Regions from separate parts of the Homo sapiens genome. Here all the other regions are linked to region 1. The links are contacts of gene promoters, found by promoter capture Hi-C in human tissues and cell types (Jung and others, 2019). All regions are on one chromosome and are shown on one strand. Each heading gives the region's core, a stretch centred on a gene start or on the middle of the fragment in contact. The rest is flanking DNA. Distances are from core to core; before and after follow the strand shown. Region 1 holds the start of LRRC37B (leucine rich repeat containing 37B). Region 2 overlaps RHOT1 (ras homolog family member T1). Region 3 overlaps UTP6 (UTP6 small subunit processome component).

Evidence for each region. The method cuts DNA at HindIII sites, captures the fragments that hold promoters and counts their contacts. A contact is called where the count stands out against the background at its distance.
Region 2: a contact is called between a fragment that was not itself captured here and the fragment with the promoter of LRRC37B in region 1, in 3 of the 25 tissues and cell types used here (dorsolateral prefrontal cortex, lymphoblastoid cells and spleen).
Region 3: a contact is called between a fragment that was not itself captured here and the fragment with the promoter of LRRC37B in region 1, in 1 of the 25 tissues and cell types used here (lymphoblastoid cells).

What each region holds. Positions count from the first base shown.
Region 1 is chr17:32,004,309-32,008,819 of GRCh38, reverse strand. It overlaps LRRC37B (leucine rich repeat containing 37B), which reads right to left and starts at 1,437. Exons shown (of 15, transcript NM_001321350.2): 1 at 688-1,437. It overlaps LOC124903972, which reads left to right and starts at 1,113. Exons shown (of 4, transcript XM_047437248.1): 1 at 1,113-1,444; 2 at 2,115-2,213. The coding sequence starts at 1,113. RefSeq lists silencers at 1,032-1,381, 1,422-1,471 and an enhancer at 1,514-2,436. The HindIII fragment of the contact is 11,687 bases long and covers 1-3,667 here.
Region 2 is chr17:32,198,451-32,202,961 of GRCh38, reverse strand. RHOT1 (ras homolog family member T1) reads right to left here. Exons shown (of 20, transcript NM_001033566.3): 12 at 3,931-4,015; 13 at 3,412-3,557; 14 at 1,906-2,006; 15 at 62-192. Among named protein-coding and RNA genes, the nearest start is that of RHOT1, 58 kb to the right of the region's middle. The HindIII fragment of the contact is 4,562 bases long and covers 334-4,511 here.
Region 3 is chr17:31,862,242-31,866,752 of GRCh38, reverse strand. It overlaps UTP6 (UTP6 small subunit processome component), which reads left to right. Exons shown (of 19, transcript NM_018428.3): 18 at 1,315-1,387; 19 at 3,237-4,511. The coding sequence ends at 3,394. Among named protein-coding and RNA genes, the nearest start is that of COPRS, 5.3 kb to the right of the region's middle. The HindIII fragment of the contact is 4,843 bases long and covers 251-4,511 here.

The DNA.
Region 1 (4,511 bases), core at 188-2,687:
CTTGTTTGGCTTTCTGCTTTGCTTTTTAATCAGCCATTTACCAGCAACTGTTGCACTAGCCCGTCAGCACTCGAAGAATAAAAACAAACACACAGGACCAGGTAAAGTTCCCCTACTAACCAAAATGATCCGTTTCCTTAACACAATTTAAAAACCACAGCTAGGGGTGTGAACACAGGCATGTTTTTCTGTGTGTCTGTGTGCCACAATCTGTACAAATCCTTAATTCCCTTTTAAGGAACAGATATATAATGAAAATCCGAAAGGAAACACATTAGAAATGCAAAGAGGTTTGCAAAACAAGAGGCTTCTTTCATTCCAGAAAACCACACCAAAACAAGGGGAGAAAAATGAATGCAATGGATATGTGTTTGCCAAAGTTTCAATCCTGCCCGGTGGAGACACTGCACTGGCACAAATTTTGAGGAGAAAAAAAGGGAGTTGGGGGGACGGGGAGCAAGCGAGTGCGGCCTGCAACAATGCAATCTCCATTTTGAACAATGTGCTTCTTTCCTCTTATAAATCTAGTTTTTTGCCACTTGATGTGCCCTCCCATTTCCCCTCTAAAGTTTAGGGGTCGGCGGGGTTGGCGGGAGATCGGAGCGGGATGCACAGCACATAAGTGAGCAAGGGGGGAGGGGAGAGGAGGTGGGGAATGAGTCTGCAGCAACTGCGCTGGGTGGGTACCTGGAGTGCTGCTGAAGCTGCTTTCCGTGGAGTAACTGGCGTCCTCGTCGTCATCTTCCAGCTCCTCCGGATAATCGGAGTCATCGTCGTCCTCCTCCATGTCATCCTCCTAGTTGTCCTCAGACTCCTGGGTCTCCTCGGCATCGCCGCCCCCCTCCTCTTACTCCTCCTCCTCGCTCTCGTAGTCATCATACACCACTCTGTTGACAGCCCTCCGGGCTGCGGTGGTCCGGGCTAGGTGGCTGCCCCCGCGCCCCCGCCGGGCCCGTGCGCTGGTGCCGGCGCGGGGCGGGCCGGCGGCGGTGGCTTCCTCCGGCTACTGCTGCCCACCCTGGGCGAGCTCAGCCGCGTCTTGGGCGCCACCTCAGCCTGGCGGCTGCCCACCTGCCCCGGCTACTACCGCGTATCGGCGAGGGGAGCCCCCGATGGGTCCGGACGTGGGCGGCGGCGGCGGCGGGGCCGGGGCGCAGCGCTCCGCAGCGGGAGCCGCGGGCTGCTTGGTCGGCCTGCCCCGCCGGCCCCTCTTGTTGGAGCCCAGGCGGCGGGAGAAGGGAAAGCTGACGGGGAGGGCCGGGCGCAGTGGCGGCGGTGGGGAGCGCCGGGGCCGGGTTGGGAGGCCCGAGGGGCTGGGCGGGAGGGGCCCGGCCGGCGGAAGCGAGTGGAGGGAGAAGGCTCAACCGAATTGCTGGGGCCCCACTCAAGATCGCCTTCAACCGCCACCTTGTTTCTTCCCTCTACAGGAGCGCGGTCACGTGAGGTGCGCCGCCGCCCAGCCTGGGAAGGGGGCGAGGTGGCGCGGCGGCCGCTAGGGGGAGCGCGGGAGCATTGAGTCGGGGGCGGAGAGCTCGGGGCGCCTGGACTTGGCGCAGCACGGCGCTCCGGGTGCGGGTGGCGCGGCTGAAAGAGGCCCGCAGCTCCTGACAAGCCCCGCGTCTAAGGCCTTCGGAGACCACAGTCTCCGCGGACCCCTGGCTGGAGCCCAAAGCCTGCCGGGTCTCCTTCCCGCGACTCCCCTTCCGCGGCTCGGAGAGGAAGGCAGGAGAGCCCCCAAATATCGTTCCCCTCCCGCCCTCTAGGGAAACTGAGGCTGAAAGAGGCAGCGAGAGAAAGAAAAAAAAAGTCGCGGAGGGGGGCGGCCCGAGCGACCTAAGGGACGGGGCAGCGCCAGCGACCGAGGAAAATTAGTCGGGGTGGGGTACAGGGAGACAAGCCCCCAGAATTTAGGAAACTCCGAAGCTTGGAAGTGGAGTCCTGAATTGACTCCGATGACAACTGCTCCGGATCTGTGCCAGGAGCCACACCCCGGGCTGCCACGCCTGGAGGGAGGGGGGTCCCTAAGACCTGTTGCATGGGATCCCCACTCGGAAAGCCTCAGTAAACTCCAGAATGCAACTACTGCATGTTCCAATCTCCCGCCACCTTCCCAGTGTCCCAGCTAGGAGCCTGACCACCTTAGCAAGAACTTACCTCTCCTTTGCAGTGGAAAAGAGGGAATCCTGCCTAAAACCTACTTCACGGTGTTACAGGTCTGTATTATCGGGAAATAACCTTAATTTATTTACCTGACAAATCACTAGGTTTGAGCTCAGCCCAGGGGACGAATCATGGTGACAGTTCAGGCACCCTCAAACCTTATCACAGGGACTCAACCCTGAGTGGTTGAGGTCAGTTCTTCAGATAAGAGAAAGGTTTGCCGGGCACAGTGGCTGACGCCTGTAATCCCAGCACTTTGGGAGGCCGAGGCGGGCGGATCACAAGGTCAGGAGTTCGAGACCATCCTGGCTAGCACAGTGAAACCCCATCTCTACTAAAAATACAAAAAAAATTAGCCGGGCGTAGGTGGTGCACGCCTGTAGTCCCAGCTACTCGGGAGGCTGAGGCAGGAGAATGGCGTAAAATCCGGGAGGCGGAGGTTGCAGTGAACCGAGATCGCGCCACTGCACTCCAGCCTGGGAGACAGAGCGAGACTCCGTCTCAAAAAAAAAAAAAAAAAAAAAAAAAAAAAAAGAAAAAGAAAGGTTTCGTAAACATATGTTAATATTTATTGAGATAAGTGACAACCAAAAAGTAATTTAAACAAAAATACTTGGCCGGGCGCGATAGCTCATGCCTGCAATCCCAGCCCTTTGAGAAGCCAAAGCCGGACGATTGCTTGAGGTCAAGAGTTTGAGACTAGCCTGGGCAACATAGCAGGACCTCGTCTCTAGAAAAAAATTGAAAAATTAGCCGGGCATGGTGGTGCGCACCTGTGGTCCCAGCTACGCCAGAGGGTGAGGGGGCAGGATCGCTTGAGCCTGGGAGGTGGATGTTGCACTGAGCCATGATTGCACCTCTGCACTCCAGCCTGAGTGACAGAGCAAGACCCTGTCTCAAAATTTTTAAAAAAGAAAGAAAAATACCTAATAGGAGATGGCTTATTTCAATCTAGTTAGGAAAATGGAACACATATGTGAAATGAAAATTAAAATACAAGCACTAATTGCCAAATACATGCATTCAATACAGTTTGGTTGAGCTCTAAGGGTGGCAAATGTGTGTTATGTCTTCAGGGACTAGGTAAGTAATGTAAGTCAATAAAGTAGACAAGGTGAAGACCTAGGCCAATGGAAATGCTCATATTTTGTTTGAAGAGGGTGGCCAGGTGTGGTGGCTCAGACCTGTAATCCCAGCACTTTAGGAAGCCAGGTGGGTGGATCACTTGAGCCCAGAAGTTCGAGGTTAGCCTGGCCAACATAGTGAAACCCCATCTCTACTTAAAACACAAAAATTAGCCGGGCATGGTGGCATGTGCCCATAGTCCTAGCTACTCAGGAGGCTGAGGCAGGAGAATCGCTTGAACCTGGAAGGCGGAGGTTGTGGTGAGCGGAGACCATGCCACTGCACTCCAGCCTGGGCAACAGAGCGAGACTCCTTCACCACCCCCTCCCCCCCACCAAAAAAAAGAGAAAAGTTAAACAAAATAGACCAAAAAAACCCAACTCTTCTTTGAATGGATTAGCAGGTATTTGCTGTTTTGCTCCTTTATGCTTTAATGAATTTATCTTTCTGTGGCTTCAAGAAGAAAAATGTTAAGTCAGTGAATACTGTATAGGTTGAGCATCCTTACCTAAAATGCTTTGGATCAGAAGTGTTTTGGGCATTTTTGGAATATTTGCATTCTACTTACCAGTTGATCATTTCTAATCTGAAAATCTGAAATGCTCTAATGAGCATTTCCTTTGAACAGCATGTTGACACTCAAAAACTTTTGGACCTTGGAGCATTTTGGATTTCAGATTTTCAGAATAAGGGTACTCCACCAGTATCCTTTTATCTATGATTTAATATAGCCCTTCTTTCTTCAGAATTACTGAGTGACTCATTCCTGTAATGCTGCTGAATTTTTATTCATTTACTACCTTAACAATAATATTTAACATTTATTGATCACTAATGTGCCCAGGCACTATGGTAGATGCCTCATCATTATACTTTTAAGTCTTATAGTGGCACACAGGCAGGTTTTATTATATCCTCATTTTACAAGTGAGATAAATAAAATGTCTTAGAGACTCAGAGAGGTTGTGTTTTGTCCATGTCCACATATCTTCTAAGCACATTAGCCTATTTAAAGCCAGATCTCTCCAAAAGCCCAGTTTTTTCAGTTCCCTCAGTTTGCCATTGAGGAAACAGGAAAATCAGACTCACTGTCATCAATTGCCTCACACATACTCTTGAATTGCTTTTGAGTGGGAACAGAAATACCATTATGTGTGTTCCTCTACATCTAGTCCTAGACATTAATTTGCCTTGTTTCTTTTAAGTTAGTGACCATCTCTGTTGAA
Region 2 (4,511 bases), core at 1,365-3,864, 190 kb before region 1:
TATGTAAACTAGTAACTATAAAAATTTGTTGGATAAAATTGTATTTTACGAGAACTCTCACCATTAAGTTTCTTCCAAGAAGAGCCTGAAGAACTCCACTTTTCCCACAGTTTTTCACTCCAATTACATTACATCTGAACACATTTCTTTGAGTTTGTTTTTTCTGCAGGTCTATCTTTTTATCTCTTGTCACTAAAAATAATAATAATAAAAAACCCCACTAAATATGTACCACTTAGATTCACTAAGCCTCCATTCCACCTTTTGCAAAATAGGGCATTGCTGCTTATTATTTTTATGAAGTAGCTGATCTATAAACAAACATATTGTACAACAGTCAAGCTGTATGTGAATGAAGTACACAGAATGCAGAAGGGCCCCAGTTAGTGGAAAAAATGCATTTCTGAAAGTTGACTGGAATGTGAATTTCGAGTAACCAAACATTTATTTCATCATAAAATAGTATATTTTCATAAGGAAAATATCCTATAAATGAATGAAAATTACTAAGAATATAGCCAACATTATATTCCATCTAATTTTTTCTGTGATAAACTGTCACATATTATAAACTAAAAGATGCTATTTCAAATCTGCACTCTCTTGGAGCTGGATCCATAAAACGGAAAGGGACACACACTTTGGGGTTAGCCGTCCTTTCAAATGTAAACTGTAAAAGAGGCATGCCAGAAAACAATGCTGTATCATAGGGACAGCAAGCATCCCTTCCTGAGGTAAAGAGACCTTCTTAGAGCCGGGTGCAGTGGCTCACGCGTGTAATCCCAGAACTGTGGGAGGCCAACAGGGGCAGATCACAAGGTCAAGAGATTGAGACCATCCTGGCCAACACAGTGAAACCCCATCTCTACTAAAAATACAAAAATTAGCTGGGCATGGTGGTGCATGCCTGTAGTCCCAGCTACTTGGGAGGCTGAGGCAGCTGAATCGCTTGAACCCAGGAGGCGGAGGTTGCAGTGAGTTGAGATCTCATCACTGCACTCCAGCCTGGTGATAGAGAGAGACTCCATCTCAAACAAACAAACAAACAAACAAACAAACACAACCTCCTTAGGCTATACCTGAAGACTGAACTACAACAGACCTCACCAGAGATACTAGTGATAGTAGAAAAAAAACCGAAAATGATAAAAATATATAATTATGGGATAGTTAAATAAGTTATAGAACATCCATATTGTGAAACATTATTTAACATTAAGATATATAAAAGTATACCTATTGATACAGAAAAATGTCCACAATGTGCTGAGTGAAAGAACCTCATGGCTGGCTAGTGACTGTTTTCTTATTCTCTGGTGTTGAATTAAATACTGTCTAATTGGTTAAGTATTTTAAAGGGTACCTGCTCTGTCAATTTAAGAAAGGCTGTCTTCTTGTGCTAGGGCTTCCCATAAGATATGGCAGATTTTCCACCAACAGGGATATAAGAAACTCTTGAAATGATCAGTTCCTTAACTTGCTATTTCCATACATATGGTTTACTTTAAGTGGTGCACATTGCTTGGCAAGAATGCCTGGCTTACAAGATTTGTGAAAGCTGTATTAATACAGAAAACAGTTAATACGCATTATTTTTAATGTTTAAAGAAAATTAAAACGCAAGATCAACTGGTAAATCCTTTAATGCCCACAGCTCTTCCTCATTTTCATCAGTGGAGTAACCCCAGGGAGTAGACTTGAAGCAAAGTCTCTACTTTCTTTCTTTTCATAAACAATAAAATCAAGCACCTCAACACAAAAGAAATGATCTGATCACAAGGAAAACTAATAGAGTGTAGATGGAAGACTAATGAAGATGAGTGTATTCTTACTCTTTGTTACATTTGAAAATGGAGTCTTAAAAAATATCTCTAATCATGAGCTGAACAGTATCTAGATACTTACCTGTAACAGCTGAAGCTTGAGACTCTTGCTCAGTCAATATTGAATAGCCTAGATAGCCCAAATATTCCAGGCACCGCTGTACATCTAAATAAGTCGTGAGCCTATGAAAGAAAAGAGTTTAAAATGTGAAAAGTTCCTAAACGAATATTTATGGGGAAAAAAAAGCCAATAGCTAAAAAAACTTTATGCACCAGACCTAGATAATTTTTGTCTAGACTACTTTAATTTCCTATGAGCCCAACCATAGTTTTTCTTACACTGCCATTCTTTTTTTTTTTTTTGAAAGATAGGGCCTTACTTTGTCATCCACGCTAGAGTGCAATGGCACAAACATGGCTCACTGTAGCCTTGAACCCCTGGGTGCAAGTGATCTTCCTGCATCAGCTCCCCAAGTATCTGGGACTACAGGCATGTGCCCCCAAGCCTGGCTAATTTTTTTTTTAATTTAAAAAAATTTTTTAGTAGAGACAGGGTTTCGCCATGTTGCTTAGGCTGGTCTTGAACTCCTGAGCTCAAGTGATCCATCCACCTTGGCCTCCCAAAGTGCTAGGATTATAGGTATGAGCCACGCTGCCTGGCCCTACACTGCCATTCTTAATGCAGAGAAGAAAGGGAGAAGAATGCAAGATGGTGGGTAATTCCTCTCTCTACTCCATCTGTCCAGAAACACTAAGCTTACAAACATAAGCGGTGAGTGGCTGGTAAAATCTAGATAGAGTGGGGATATTTTATGCGATCTACCTTCCAAGTTAAAAACAAACCAAAAAAAACAACCTCCTTAGGCTATACCTGAAGACTGAACTACAACAGACCTCACCAGAATACTAGTGATAGTAGAAAAAAACCCAAAAATGATAAAAATATATAATTATGGGATAGTTAAATAAGTTATAGGACATCCATATTGTGACACATTATTTAACATTAAGATATATAAAAGTATACTTATTGATACAGAAAAATGTCCACAATGTGCTGAGTGAAAGAACCTCATGGCTGAGGCAGGAGAATGGCTTGAACCCAGGAGGCAGAGTTGCAGTGAGCCAAGATCACGCCACTACACTCCAGCCTGGGCAACAGAGTGAGACTCCATCTCAAAAAAAAAAAAAAAAAGAGTTCATTAAAAACAAACAATAACAAAAAAACAGAATCTTCAGTGTCAAGTAAAATATGCTTCACCCCATATTCTGAAAGAGTAAGAATTGTGCAACAGCAATGACATTTCCAATTCCCTTAATCAAACAAAAAAGTGCTAAAATGTAGTTCAATTTTCAAAGACTTACTACTTTTTCCCTATATATCATTCAAAAGAAAACAATCCCTTCCTGATAAATTTATAGAACATTTATAGTTCATCTTAGAGATATCAGCAGCTAATCTTGCTTAGAGGCAATTATGATTGAAGAATTTCATAATGCCTCACAAGCTTACAAAGTGACAAATGTAATACACCATAATTTTAAACTATTTGTAACTCTAGAGGAAAGAGGTGAGCTCTATACTCACGTCCACTGGGAAAGGAATCCCTGGTAGGTTATCCAGCCTCTTTCATTGGTACAAACTGTGTTATTCACATCTGGCCCCCAAGGTATGTAAGGGAAAACTTTAAATAAATCTTTAAGCTCATCAGGTGACAAAGCACAGTCTCTATCCTGAAGAAACACAAGGATACAGAATGTTTAGATATCTAAGATAATAATTCCCAACTCAAAAGCCCCCCAATCTAGTAAAGCTATGCTTTTTAAAACTACTTAATAAATGACAACAAATTTTACATTTTATCAAGAAAATTCCTCAAATGTATGTAAGAAAACCTATAAGAGAGTCTATTAGAAATTAGACATTTTCATCTTGAGAAAACAACAAAGGTAAACAGCAGAAAATATTTTTGCGAATTTAACTTAGAGAGGTTAAGCAGTTTTTGGCTATGTAACATACACATCCCATAGCTCAGGGAACAGAGTTATATCATCCATAGAAAAATGTTTTACTATATATAATGGAAAATTACAGCTAAAGGCTTACCAAATCATGCTTGTCAAAGGTGCTTTGGAGAAATAAATATGCATGATGATTTAATTCAGTAGTGCAATCAGGAGGTATTTTCAGCCTGTTGAAAAAATTCAAGAGTAAAATAAATCATTAATCAAATGTTAAAATTTAAGAAATTAATATAAAATTGCAACAAGTCTTTTGTGAGGTAACACCATTTACAAGAATATCTTCACTTGGTATCATTTAGACTTTCCCAAGGAAACTCTCTGGAGTGATTTTGGCACTCTTCAGAAGAGTCATAATAATGCTCATTCCAAAGTAACAACATTTTCTTTTTTTCTCTTTTTTAAATTCAGACAGGGTCTCACTCTGCTGCCCGGGCTACAGTGCAGTGGCACGATCACAGCTCACTGCAGTCTCGACCTCCTGGGCTCAATCAATCTACCCATCTCAGCCTCTTGAGTAGCTGGGACCACAGGCGCACACTACCATGCCTGGCTAATTTTTGTATTTTTGTAGAGATGGGGTCTCACCATGTTGCCCAGGCTGGCTCAAACTCCTGGGCTCAAGCAATCCACCCACCTTGGCTTCCCAGTAAGTGTTGGGATTAT
Region 3 (4,511 bases), core at 1,423-3,922, 140 kb after region 1:
CCACCGCACCTGGCTAATTTTTTTTTTTTTTTTTTAGACGGAGTCTCTCTCTGTCGCCCAGGCTGGACTCTTGGCTCACTGCAACCTCTGCTTCCCAGGTTCAAGCAATTCTCTTGCCTCAGCCTCCTGAGTAGCTAGGATTACAGGCATGCACCACCATGCCTGGCTAATTTTTGTATTTTTAGTAGGGACAGGGTTTCACCATGTTGACCAGGCTGGTCTTGAACTCCTGACCTTGTGATCCACCTGCCTTGCCTCAGCCTCCCAAAGTGCTGGGATTACAGGTGTGAGCCACCGCGCCTGGCCCTAATTTTTGTATTTTTTGTAGAGACTGGTTTCACCACGTTGGCCAGGCTGGTCTCAACTCCTGACCTTGTGATCTGCCTGCCTTGGCCTCCCAAAGTACTGGGATTACAGGCATGAGCCACTGCACCCGGCAAGAATACTTTTTTTTTTTTTTTTTTTTGAGACAGAGTCTCGCTCTGTCGCCCAGGCTGGAGTGTAGTGGCGCGATCTCGGCTCACTGCAAGCTCCACCTCCTAGGTTCACGCCGTTCTCCTGCCTCAGCCTCCTGAGTAGCTGGGACTACAGGCACCCGCCACCACGCCTGGCTAATTTTTTGTATTTTCAGTAGAGACGGGGTTTCACTGTTGTAGCCAGGATGGTCTCGATCTCCTGACCGTGTGAGCCACCGTGCCCGGCAAGAATACATTTTTAAAAATAGGTGGAGAATGAGCAGTTTTTGGTTGTAAAGTTAGTTACAGCTATTCTGCTAGGTACATAATTCATCAGCATTTTAATCTAATACTTATAGTTGTGCTAAGAGATATTAAAGCTTGTTTTATAGGTGAGGAAATGTTTAAGGTCAAAGGGTTCAAAAACTTGCTGAAGGTCATATAACTAGTATTTATTTTAAGGTGGATATAACAAATAAGTACCAGAGCCCAGATATTCAAAAGGAAGAAATCCTTACTCAAAGCGAATAGAACCTTCGCTGTTTCTTTATTTAATTCCCACTCATTCCTCAAGACTTTCAAATACTGTTTTCTGTGAAGCTGCCCATGTCCCCCACTTTTTTCTAATAGCACTTTTCTCCATGCTACTACAGCAAAGTGCTTTTATGTTTCACATATGTACTTCACTCTGTTGAGTGGCTTTGATTTTTTTCCTAGAAAAGTTGAGAGCCAAGTTGTGTTCATGTTAAACTCTTCCCTTCAAATACCTGACAGACAGTAGCTGCTTAACAATATGGTTGGAATGAATTTGTTATGTTATAAATCAGGCTTTTGAGACAAGATTGTCTATCTTTGTCAGGAATCCTGCAATATGGCGAACATAAGAGAATATTATGAGAGAGCTTTGAGAGAGTTTGGATCCGCAGATTCTGGTAAGTAAACCCTTAATTTGTGACCAATTAGTATGGTTAGAACAGTGTTTCTTGGCTGAGTACAGTGGCTCATGCCTGTAATCCCAGCACTTTGGGAGGCCAAGGCAGGCGGATCACCTGAGGTCAGGAGTTCGAGACCAGCCTGGCCAATATGGTGAAACCCCGTCTCTACTAAAATAAAAATTAGCTGGACATGGTGGTGCGCACCTGTAATCCCTGCCTGGGAGGCTGAGGCAGGAGAATCGCTTGAGCCTGGGAGACGGAGGTTGCAGTGAGCTGAGATTATACCATTGCACTCCAGCCTGGGCAACAACAGTGAAACTCCGTCTCAAAAACAAACAAACAAACAAACAAAACTGTTTCTTAGTTTTTTGATTTGCATCATAACCCTCTTTTAAAATAAAACTTGTTTCCTTCCTCTGCCTCCTCACTTGCTTTGTGTATACTATCATTTCAGGATCATAAGTTCAGGGGTCCATGGGTCGTCTGTTAAGAACCCTAGATTTCTCAGGAGCCTGAGACCAGCCTGGGCAACATATTTAGATCCCCATCTCTACAAACAATAAAAAAAAAAAAGTAACTGGGTATGGTGGTGCATGCTTGTGGTCCCAGCTACACAGCAGGCTGAGGTGCGAGGATTGTTTGGGCCCCAGGATGTTGAGGCTGCAATGACTGTGATGCCACCATTGTACTCCAGCCTGGGCAATACAATGAGATCCTGTCTCAAAAACAAAAACCAAAAACACCCCCTCTGGATTAGAGAAAGATTTGCATGGTTTTGTTTTCTTAAAAAAAATGTATTTAGAGTTACATGAAAGGGGTAAACGTGAGATGCTAATTGGCGTCTGTTGTTGACTATCTCCACATTGCCCTCATTTGTAGGACTTGTACAACATACTTCTGGGTATAGGTATGTCATGTAAAATCTGTGGACTTTGTGAACTCATAAACATTGATTTGTTTATTTTTATTTTGTTTTGAGACAGAGTCTCACTCTGTCACCCAGGCTGGAGTGCAGTGGCGCAATCTTGCCTCACTGCAATCTCTGCCTCCCAGATTCAAGCGATTCTCGTGCCTCAGCCTCCCAAGTAGCTGGGAGTACAGGCACGCGTGCCACCATGCTCGGCTAATTTTTGTATTTTCAGTCGAGATGGAGTTTCGCCATGCTGGCTAGGCTGGTCTTGAACTCTTGACCTCAGGTGATCCGCCCGCCTTGGCCTCCCAAAGTGCCGGGATTACAGGTGTGAACCACTGTGCCTAGCCAAAAAGTTTAGTATTTTTGAGTTCATTGAATAAAATAGACTTTTATGATTGATGTGAAGGTTTTCTACTGGGAAAAAAAACAAAAAACAAAAAAACAAAACTGATGAGGCACAGTGGCTCACGCCTGTAATCCCAGCACTTTGGAAGGCCAAGGTAGAAGGATTGCTTGAGCCCAGGAGTTCAAGACTAGCCTGGGCAATATAGTGAAACCCTGTTTCTACAAAAAATAAAAAAATTAGCCTAATATGGTGGTGTGCCTGTGTTCCCAGCTGCCCTGGAGGCTGAGGCAGGAGGGTCACTTGAACTCAGGAGGTTGAGACTGTAGTAAGCCATGTTCCCGCTACTACACTCTAGCCGGGGCAACACAGTGAGACCCTGTCTCAAAAAAGAAAAAAACACACAAAAACAAACCAAAACCTGCCACTATACTTTAAAGAAGCTAAGAGAGGTATTGTTAAACAAAGCGTCCTAGGGAAGTAACAATGAGAAGTTAAGTTTCTTAGAAATCTTGAGTTGAATTGATATTTAATAAGGTTACCTAATAACACTCTGTCAGTTATCTAATTGTATGTTTTTTTTTTAAAAGATCTTTGGATGGATTATATGAAAGAAGAATTGAACCACCCCCTTGGTAGACCTGAGAACTGTGGACAGATCTACTGGCGAGCGATGAAAATGTTGCAGGGAGAGTCAGCAGAGGCATTTGTAGCTAAACATGCTATGCATCAGACTGGCCATTTATGAAGATGAAGAATACAGTCAGCTTTGTGAAATAGTATTGCAAGCAAGCCCCGTGGGCAAATTTGTATTGAGTCCATCTGTAATTTGCTCAGTGATGGCAGACAAGATGGCTGTCTGGTTTTGAGACACACTTTAATTTTATGTTAACTTGTTAAATCTTTTTAAAAATTAAAAAATTTTTATGATTGAGACTGGGTCTTGCTCTGTTGCCCTGGCTGGTCTTGAACTCCTGGACTCAAGTGACCTTCTCACCTCAGACTCCTGAGTAGCTGGGATTATAGGTGCATGACACTGCTCAGTTTGATGTGCTAATCTGATTCCAGTAAAGAGAATTGCTGATTTAATGTTGAGGCCCGATCTTCCACAGGTCCTAAATGTTTCCCAAAATACATGGATAGCATACGACTGGGTTTTTTTAAAATTATCCCAGGTCAAGCATGAGTATCTCTAATCTCGACCTAAGAGCCAGTTAAAATGAAGGAGAAAGTGGCCAGGCATGGTGACTCAACGCCTGTAATCCCAGCACTTTGGGAAGGCTGAGGCAGGCGGATCACCTGAGGTCAGGAGTTTGAGACTAGCCTGGCCAACATGGTGAAACCCCGTCTCTACTAAAAATACAAAAATTAGCCAGGTGTGGTGGTGGGTGCCTGTAATCCCAGCTGCTTGGGAGGCTGAGGCAGGAGAATTGCTTGAACCTGGGAGACGGAGGTTGCAGTGAGCCGAGATCATGCCATTGCTACTCCATCCTGGGTAAGAAGAGCGAAACTCCTTCTCAAGGAAAAAAAAAAAGGAGAAAGTACAGTTTTGTTGGTTTATTCTCATTATAAAAGATACGTGGTATGCATTTGTTCTGGAAAATATGGAGGAAATAGAATAGTGTGGTAAAAAAAAGCATCCTGTCACTGGGAGAAGCTTTCAGTGTAGCTTATTGTTACGTTTCACTTAGTATTGTTTTTCTGTGTCATTAAATAGCCTTAAAAACATTTAATGAATTCGTAACATTACATTGTAAAAATGAGCCATAATATATTTTACTAATCCTCTGGTTAGACTGTCTTTTTTTTTTTGAGATGGAGCCTTGCTCTGTCATCCAGGCTGGAGTGCAGTGGCTCCATCTCGG